Linked DNA regions of Homo sapiens: all the other regions are linked to region 2. The links are contacts of gene promoters, found by promoter capture Hi-C in blood cells and fetal thymus (Javierre and others, 2016). All regions are on one chromosome and are shown on one strand. Each heading gives the region's core, a stretch centred on a gene start or on the middle of the fragment in contact. The rest is flanking DNA. Distances are from core to core; before and after follow the strand shown.

Region 1 (2,700 bases), core at 52-2,551, 740 kb before region 2:
GCAGTCTATCCATTCTCAGATCTCAAACTCTGTGCTAGGAGAACCACTAGTCTCTTCAAAGCTGTCAGACAGAGACATTTAAGCCTGCAGAAGTTTCTGCTGCCTTTTGTTCCGCTATGCCCTGCCCCCAGAGGTGGTGTGTACAGAGGCAGGCAGGCCTCCTGGAGCTGTGGTGGGCTCCACCCAGTTCGAGCTTCCCAGCTGCTTTGTTTACCTACTCAAGCCTCAGCAATGGTGGACGCCCATCCCCCAGCCTTGCTGCCACCTTGCAGTTCGATCTTAGACTGCTGTGCTAGCAGTGAGCGAGGCTCTGTGGGCGTGGGACCCTCCCAGCCAGCCAGGTGCGGGATATAATCTCCTGGTGTGCCATTTGCTAAGACCATTGGAAAAGCACAGTATTAGAGTGGGAGTGTCCCGATTTTCCAGGTACCATCTGTCACAGCTTCCCTTGGCCAGGAAAAGGAATTCCCTGACCCCTTGCACTTCCTGGGTGAGGCGATGCCCGCCCTGCTTTGGCTTACACTCCGTGGGCTGCATCCATTGTCCTGCACCCACTGTTTGACAAGCCCCAGTGAGATGAACCCGGTACCTCAGTTGAAAAGGCAGAAATCACCCATCTTCTGCATCGCTCACACTGGGAGCTATAGACTGGAGTTGTTTCTATTTGGCCATCTTGGAACCTCTCCCTTCTAATTCTTAAAAGCAGAAGATAAAATTTCCACATGAAAGATGTTCTCCCCTTATAAGAAGGGAAGTAACATTCTTGTCAAGAATGCAAAGTTGAGGCAAAGGGAAATCTGTACAAACAAAAATTTGTTTCTCAGTCTCAGCTGAAAACTCTAAGAGGATAGAAATAAAATTTTGCCTACTCTGCAGCTTCTTATTACAGACACTAAAGATATTTGAGTTTGTAAGTAAACGTGCTACATTTAAAAATTGTACGATGCTTTCTCATAGTTATGAAATGGCATACTTCCTCATTTTTGCTGAAAATTAAGTTTACTAAGAGCTAAGAATTAATTAATATATGTAATTAAGGACACTAGAAATAATAAGAAAAACGAATTAATATAAATTAGACAAGGAAAGTAAGGTTTATTTTTGGTAAGATAAGTTATAAAGTATAAGGATGTGTTTTTTGCTGAGAAAAAGAAAATTATTGTTCTATTTTAGAGTTTAAAGCTTGTTTCAAATGAAAAAGAGGGAAATGAAGGACAAAAACTAAATGGACATAGAAATTGGGGTGGGGGGAGAGAGAGAAAGAGAAAGAGATAATATGAAGAGAGATAATCTTATGTAGTTAGGCTGGCTGAAATGAAATGAATTTATTATAATGGTTTAAAAATGAGGCTTAGTATCAAAAGTATGTTGAGACAAAATTAGATTTTGGTCTTATTTTTGTTAAAAGAACAAAGCTTTCTTAGGTTATTGGTGTATTCCTGGTAAGTGACTATGAAAGGTTTCTCTTTACCTCCTAAGTGATTTGCCTAAAAACAAAAGGATTTTGGTCTTATCAAAATACTTTCCTTTGCTTCATGTTGTCTTGATCATGTCTGACAACTTAAGAAAACAGACTTCTCTGTTAAAAGAGCTGAGGTTTTTGTCAACTATATAACTTTCTGTATTTGTCTTTGAAATCATTAATTCTTATTTTGGTTACAGGGATAACTAAGTATTGTTTCAAGTGTCCCATTTAATCAAGTGTTTAAAATCTTTTGACATTTTTGACTATTTCACCTTCCCCAAACCAAATCTTAAATACAATCTGCTTGACCTCAACCTAATTTTGAGATTTTCCAGAGGGCTGCTGGAGAAACACAAAGGATTAATATCTAGTCTTATCAGAAAGAGATGTTAAAATAATTAGGTTTATTTGGTATGTTAAATTGTATGGGAAGCATTGTTAAATAAGAAGTGATGATAAACCTTCTTTAGATTATATTTATGTGGATATAGGTATTCCAAAAATTATATAGAGTTGTTAGAAATTTTTTAATTTTCTTATTGTCTGTATAATCAGTTATAATCCTGGTTATTACCTTAAAATGTTATATGTCACAGAAATAACCATATTTCCTCATCAATTTCATTTATATAAATGCTTATCATCATCTTTAACTGTGGTCATTTTAAGTATTTTGTCATTCAAAAATAGTTATTTTTTTACTCTGATGGTTTTTCTAGAAGTTTTTGCAAGTAGCTATGTTACAAAATTGCAAAATTCTGACAGGTTTCTGATAGCTTTAAAATCATACTACTAGGGTTGTTCCTAGCCTTGCAGGTCCACAAGCTGGGGCTGGATGACTTGATATGCATTTCAGAGAAATCACCACAGCAGCTCATATGTTGACAACCTTTTTGCCTGCTGTGTGGGCCATGCAGAAAGTTAACCAGAATGCCCAATGGCATCACCAGAGACATTCAAACTGCAAACCAGGAAAATCTATTATATTGAAACTGCCGTATTAGAAAAAAAATGCTGTTTACACATTAATAAGCCAGGAATTGTAGCCCAAAATCTTAAAGATCTAAAAGATCAGATCCAGATATTCACCAGATTGGGGAAGGACAATCAACTGATCTAATTTGTTAAATCTTGGCTATTGGGGACCTTGGATTTGGGATATTTTTAAAGGCTTGCCATTATCCTCCTATGATTTATAGTCATAATATCCTTCTGTGCTGTCATCTTTCAAGAGT
Region 2 (2,700 bases), core at 98-2,597:
TCTCTTAGTGATTCTTTACTCTGAATTTTTATTGTACTTTAACCAAATTTCTATTGCCACTTATTGTAATTGAAATAGGTTGCCTACTTGTCTGTCTCCAATGGACTAGGAACACCTCAAAGGGCATAATCTTATATTTATGTTTTTTACCAATGCTTGGCACTGAGAATAAACTGAAGCAATAATTATAGAATTAGTGGTCATATACAAGAAATATGCATTTACAAAAAAAAACACTTCACATACAGGAAGTTTGTGAGATGGCTATATTTGAAAGCATTTTAATTATAAGAAAACAGAACTGAAGCCAGACTCTTCAGAATTCCTCCAATTTATCATTCATTCATTTATTCATCAATGCTATATTTAGGTACCAAGCACTGGCTGAGTGTTGAAGACAGAATGAATGACAACATCCAGCTTTGGAGTCGATTAGGGACTAAAAAAGAAAGTGCATCTCACTTAGTGGTCCCACATTTCCCCTAGAGGGCAAAGCCTGACCTTGAGACCAGGTGGAATTGTAGGGGAACTTCAGATGGCAGGGACAAAGCCTCATTGGTCTTGTCAGGCAACGAGTAAGCAATCATTGCGTGTTTGTTGAAACAGGTTGAAAAAAATAGTCATTTTCATCAAATGAACTTTAAAACGGAGATGATCTAAATTCAGATGTATTTTTTTAAGTCCTTTAAAGTTTAACTGAAATGCAACATAGAAATTTATTTCTGGCCGGGCGCGGTGGCTCAGGCCTGTAATCCCAGCACTTTGGGAGGCCGAGGCGGGCGGATCACGAGGTCAGGAGATCGAGACCATCCTGGCTAACACGGTGAAACCCCCCTCTCTACTAAAAATACAAAAAATTAGCCGGGCGAGGTGGCGGGCGCCTGTAGTCCCAGCTACTCGGGAGGCTGAGGCAGGAGAATGTCGTGAGCCCGGGAGGCGGAGCTTGCAGTGAGCCGAGATCGCGCCACTGCACTCCAGCCTGGGCGACAGAGTGAGACTCCGTCTCAAAATAAAAAAAAGAAGGAAAGAAATTTATTTCTATTTGTACTAAATCTAATAGAACAAGAGCGTTAAAGTCCAGAAGAGTCGGGGATGGGCAAGTTTTATAAATAACTTGGCCTCCGCATTGAAGAGCCTGCGAGATGTGAGACCAGCTGAGAGCGGAAGCCTCTGGAAGGAGACCTCCTCATCTGGAGGGTGGGGGAGGGAGTGTGCATACTTGAGCCCTTGTCCTTGAAGGGGATTGAGCGAGCCGAGGGGAGGGGTAGGCGGTACTCGGATTTCCAATCACAATGGAGAAACCTAAGAGGCTGCGGTGGTTGTGGGGCCCCGCCCCCTCCTCCCTCCTTGCAGAGCCGGCGCCGGAGGAGACGCACGCAGCTGACTTTGTCTTCTCCGCACGACTGTTACAGAGGTCTCCAGAGCCTTCTCTCTCCTGGTAGGTTTCGGCTCAGGACCCTGAATCCTGGCCCACAGGCAAGCCTGATGGGACGTGCGGGGTAGTACTTGTATGGGGAGACGCGGGAAGGAGGAAGAAGCACATCTGTCCTCCGCGGCCTTTAGCTCTGAGCATCCGGCCGCGGGCCCTGACTTTGCCGCTCAGTTTGGGGCGCAGGGGGGGCCGTGCCCTGGCGGAGGAGCAGAAGGCAGAGGGTAGCAGCTGCGGCTCAGCGGAGAGACTTGTTGCATTTGCAGCTAAAACCAGGCCCTACTTGTCCTTGGTGGGTTCATGGCGGCCACATCACCCCCACGGCCTGCTGGCGGGAGTCGGGACACGTGCCCGAGTAGCTGGGGGAGGGGGACGGAACCAGGTGGCCTATGAAGGCTGGACGATCTTTACCTCGAATATTTGAATATATTGCCACGGTAATAGAGAAATGCCCTTGCACTCGCTGGGATGAGGAGAAAGGCACCTAGATGACCAGCACGTTTGGCGCTGCACTTATTTTTACCCGGCTCTGACGGTCTTTCCAGGAGCCATGCGCCAGTTCTTTCCTGCAGGGCCTCTTTTCTGGATGCTTAGGGGCTTCGTTTACTTTACCAGCCTTGGGTGCTCCGAGTAAGGAAGTCCTAGACTTGTCCCCACAGACCTTACTCGGGGAGATCTCTAGCTTCTGCATGCCCTCGTGATCTGCTGTTCTTTGCTGCCGGTGCCCTGAGGAAAAGATGGTTTGTGCGCACCGCGAGCAGTACAAGCTGCAGTAAGGGCCTGGGGAATGGGGGGAGGGGAGGAATTCAAAAGCAAAACCTGAATTTTTAAAAGATTACGGTGAGAAAGATTCTGCAAAGAAGATCTTTGTTCCTGAAATTAAGGCGCTCCTTTATTTCTAATGATTTATATCCACAGCAGTGAGGAGACATAAGGGACCAAGACTCAGAGATTTTTACCGTTTGTCGTTCTTGTTCCTTACAGCCTGCACTCTGATGTTGGCACAGGCCTGTATATCATGCAGACCATTTTCTTCTCATTTCTTAAAACTCTTTTTAAGGAAAAATTGAAGAAAAGCACTTTCTCCAGAAATATCTGAAAGAAAATCTGGTTCGAGCCTTTAAATTGTACTTCCTGAAGTTTTCTAAATTAAAAGGTCTATCAGAACAACGAATCTGTATTTATATAGCCACTGTTTCTTCATTTTCATTTTCCACTGCTTCCTGGGCCCCCTGTATACCAAAACGGTCGTAAACAGACCATCTAACAAC
Region 3 (2,700 bases), core at 64-2,563, 680 kb before region 2:
CTGAGCTCTTACCCAGTGTGTTGGAAAAATCGGATCACATGTGGGCTGGAAGGATCAGTGCAAAGTTTTATTGAGTGGTGGGGGTGGCTTTCAGCAAGATGGATGGGGAGCTGGAAGAGGGGGATGGAATGGAAATGTGGTCTTCCTCAGGAGTTGGGCTGCCCAGCTGCCAGACTCTTCTCTAACCGCCCCCGGCCGAACTCCTCTTGGCATCCAGATGTCCCTGCTCTTCTTTCTTTCTCTGCCATGTCGTTCTGCCGTTGCTGGTCTGCCGGTCTGCTGGTGTCTGCTGGTGTGTTCTTCTGCTTCGCTCAACCTTCAGCTGCTTGCGTCTGTGCCTGCTAAGGCCTTAGGTTTATATGGGAACAGGATGGGGGGCATGGTAGGCCAGAGCAGTCTTGGAAAATGCAACATTTGGGCACGAAAACAGGAGTGCCTGTTCTCACTTAGGTCTGTGGGCACAGGCCTGAGGGTGGAGCCATCTCCAGGGACACTGTCCTTTTTTACCCAATACTTCCCTGGCCCCCATCCTGTGTGAGTGAGATTCTTGGAGGTAAAACTATAAAAAGTGTGGAGGCCCACCTGACTATGATCTCCAGGACTTCCTGATTGTGATCCCCAGGAGTTTCTCCCTTTCACTCTAGTCCACACTTAGCCTCCAGCAATTCCACTATGCCAATTCCAAATGACCACTGAAGCGTTCCTACCAGTTTATGGCTTCAACATCTTCTGCTCCAGATAAACATACCTCAACTCTGGCTCTGGATTTGTCCATTTCTCCATTTTGGAGGAGAGGGGAATTGCCTTGTAACTTTAGTTCTTTATTGAGCCCAAGTAAAGTTGTTGATTTTCAGCTTTCTTGCTTTAAATAAATCTAATCCCAACATAATTTCCAATCTTTTGCATGCATTTTCTTCTTTAAACTTCCATTATTTTCTGTTTCTTATTTTCTAAAATTTCAGTGTTATATACCTTTGGTGTAGGTTTAAAAAATTCATTTTATTGAGTCCTTAATGAACTCTTAAATTTTAGGATTCTTTTTAGTATGTCTTTGAAAATCTGCTTTTTGTTTCTTGTTGTTTGGATATTTATTTTTTCTTTGAGCCTATAATTTATTATCTTGTTTACCCTCTTTTATATTTTTGGCCTACTTTCTGGGATATTTCTTTAACTTTGTAATTCAACTTTTCTATGAATTCTGTTATATATTTTGTTACCATATTTTAAGTTTCAAAGGACTTTATTTTTAGTCATCTGAACATTCCTTTTGTTCTTGCTTCATTGGATTGTGTCTCAGTCCATGTGAGAATATTAATTATGGTTTTTATTGAAGATTTCTTATGTTTCCTGCATTATCATTTTTTCCTAGAGTTGATTTCTGTGTGTGATCATTTGCTTGTTTTGTCTCTACTTTCATGTTGGAGACTCTCTTCAAATGTCTAGGGATCCTTGACTCTCCCCTCATATTTAAGAAGGAGGCCTGAAAAAGAGGCCACGAAACTCGGTGTAGGCAGAGCTTATACACTAATGGGTCTCACTAGAGGGTGTTAGACAGGGATTTGGCCATTCGATTGGAGATCTCTTAAACATATCAGAATCTGTAGGTCTTCTCTTTTGTGCTGGTCAGTCTCTAGAGATTTAACCTCCCGTTTTAAGCCAGTTGGGGAATAAGATCTAGATGTTTCAACTGCTCCTTTTTAAAGATTTCCAACAAACCTCTTAGTTTGTTTCATTCATTACCTCCATCTCCAGAGGTCCTAGGTGCCTTCGTTTCTGAGCCTTTCAAGAACTCTCTAGTATAAATTAGCTTGATTCTTGTTGGCTTCTCTCTATGCTCCTCAATTTTCTGTGCACGTGGACACACACACACACACACACACACACACACACACACACACACACACACACACAGAGTTACTTGAAGGCCCAGACCTTTCTCTCTCCTGATAAGTCAGTTAACACTTGTTTAATTGCTTTCCTGCTTGTGAACTTTTTGACATCCTTTGTCTGCTTTTGTATTCCTTCGTTTTTTCTTGTTCTTCTGAATCTTTTTCACTTTTACTCCTTTACTCTTCTTTTAGTGAGGTCACAATAGGGAGTGGAGATAAATAAATGCATTTATTCAGATAAACTATATTTATAACCTTTCTCAATCTACAACCTTATTTACCTTGGTGTTGTAATTGGTTGTGAAACAGGCATCATTTTATGCTTTTGACTGGCCATTCCAAGCCATTCTGACAAGAAGAACTTGAGCAGAGACTGAAGATTGGCCTTTTAAAATTTTATCTCAAATCACTGACAATTCTGTTTAATCTGGACTCCTGCCTTTACATTTTTCTACTACACATTTATAGAGTTTTAAAAGTTGTTTAGTCCCTGAGGAAATCCTGTTTGTGTCCGCTAAGCATACTCAGATGCAGAAGTATAAAAGAATACCTAAGCTACTTACTATAAGTCATACAAACAAGATGGCTAAATATCAATTAAAATATTTTATTTAAAACATTAAAACTTGGGGGTTCATACTTTTCCTTAAACAGTGATGCCTTGGCAATAGACTGAATAAGTTTGAGGATCTCATTATAAAACCAAGCAACAATTATTTGTTGAAGTGCCTGAGTTGATACCTGGAGGAACATGAAGAAAATGTGAAATATTGTTCTTGCTCTTCTCCTAGACACTTAGCCATGCCCTGTG

What was found. The method cuts DNA at HindIII sites, captures the fragments that hold promoters and counts their contacts. A CHiCAGO score of 5 or more calls a contact.
Region 1: a contact is called between a fragment that was not itself captured here and the fragment with the promoter of LDHB in region 2, in 5 of 17 cell types (total CD4 T cells, naive CD4 T cells, total CD8 T cells and 2 more). The highest score is 9.0, in total CD4 T cells.
Region 3: a fragment that was not itself captured here is called in contact with the fragment with the promoter of LDHB in region 2 in 1 of 17 cell types (activated CD4 T cells); the score reaches 6.2 in activated CD4 T cells.

What each region holds. Positions count from the first base shown.
Region 1 is chr12:22,398,080-22,400,779 of GRCh38, reverse strand. No RefSeq gene overlaps it. Among named protein-coding and RNA genes, the nearest start is that of ST8SIA1, 65 kb to the right of the region's middle. The HindIII fragment of the contact is 233 bases long and covers 1,185-1,417 here.
Region 2 is chr12:21,656,489-21,659,188 of GRCh38, reverse strand. LDHB (lactate dehydrogenase B) reads left to right here and starts at 1,347. Exons shown (of 8, transcript NM_002300.8): 1 at 1,347-1,438. RefSeq lists enhancers at 866-1,045, 920-1,448, 1,426-1,675, 1,706-1,795. The HindIII fragment of the contact is 8,571 bases long and covers 1-2,700 here.
Region 3 is chr12:22,337,396-22,340,095 of GRCh38, reverse strand. No RefSeq gene overlaps it. Among named protein-coding and RNA genes, the nearest start is that of ST8SIA1, 4.0 kb to the right of the region's middle. The HindIII fragment of the contact is 6,355 bases long and covers 1-2,700 here.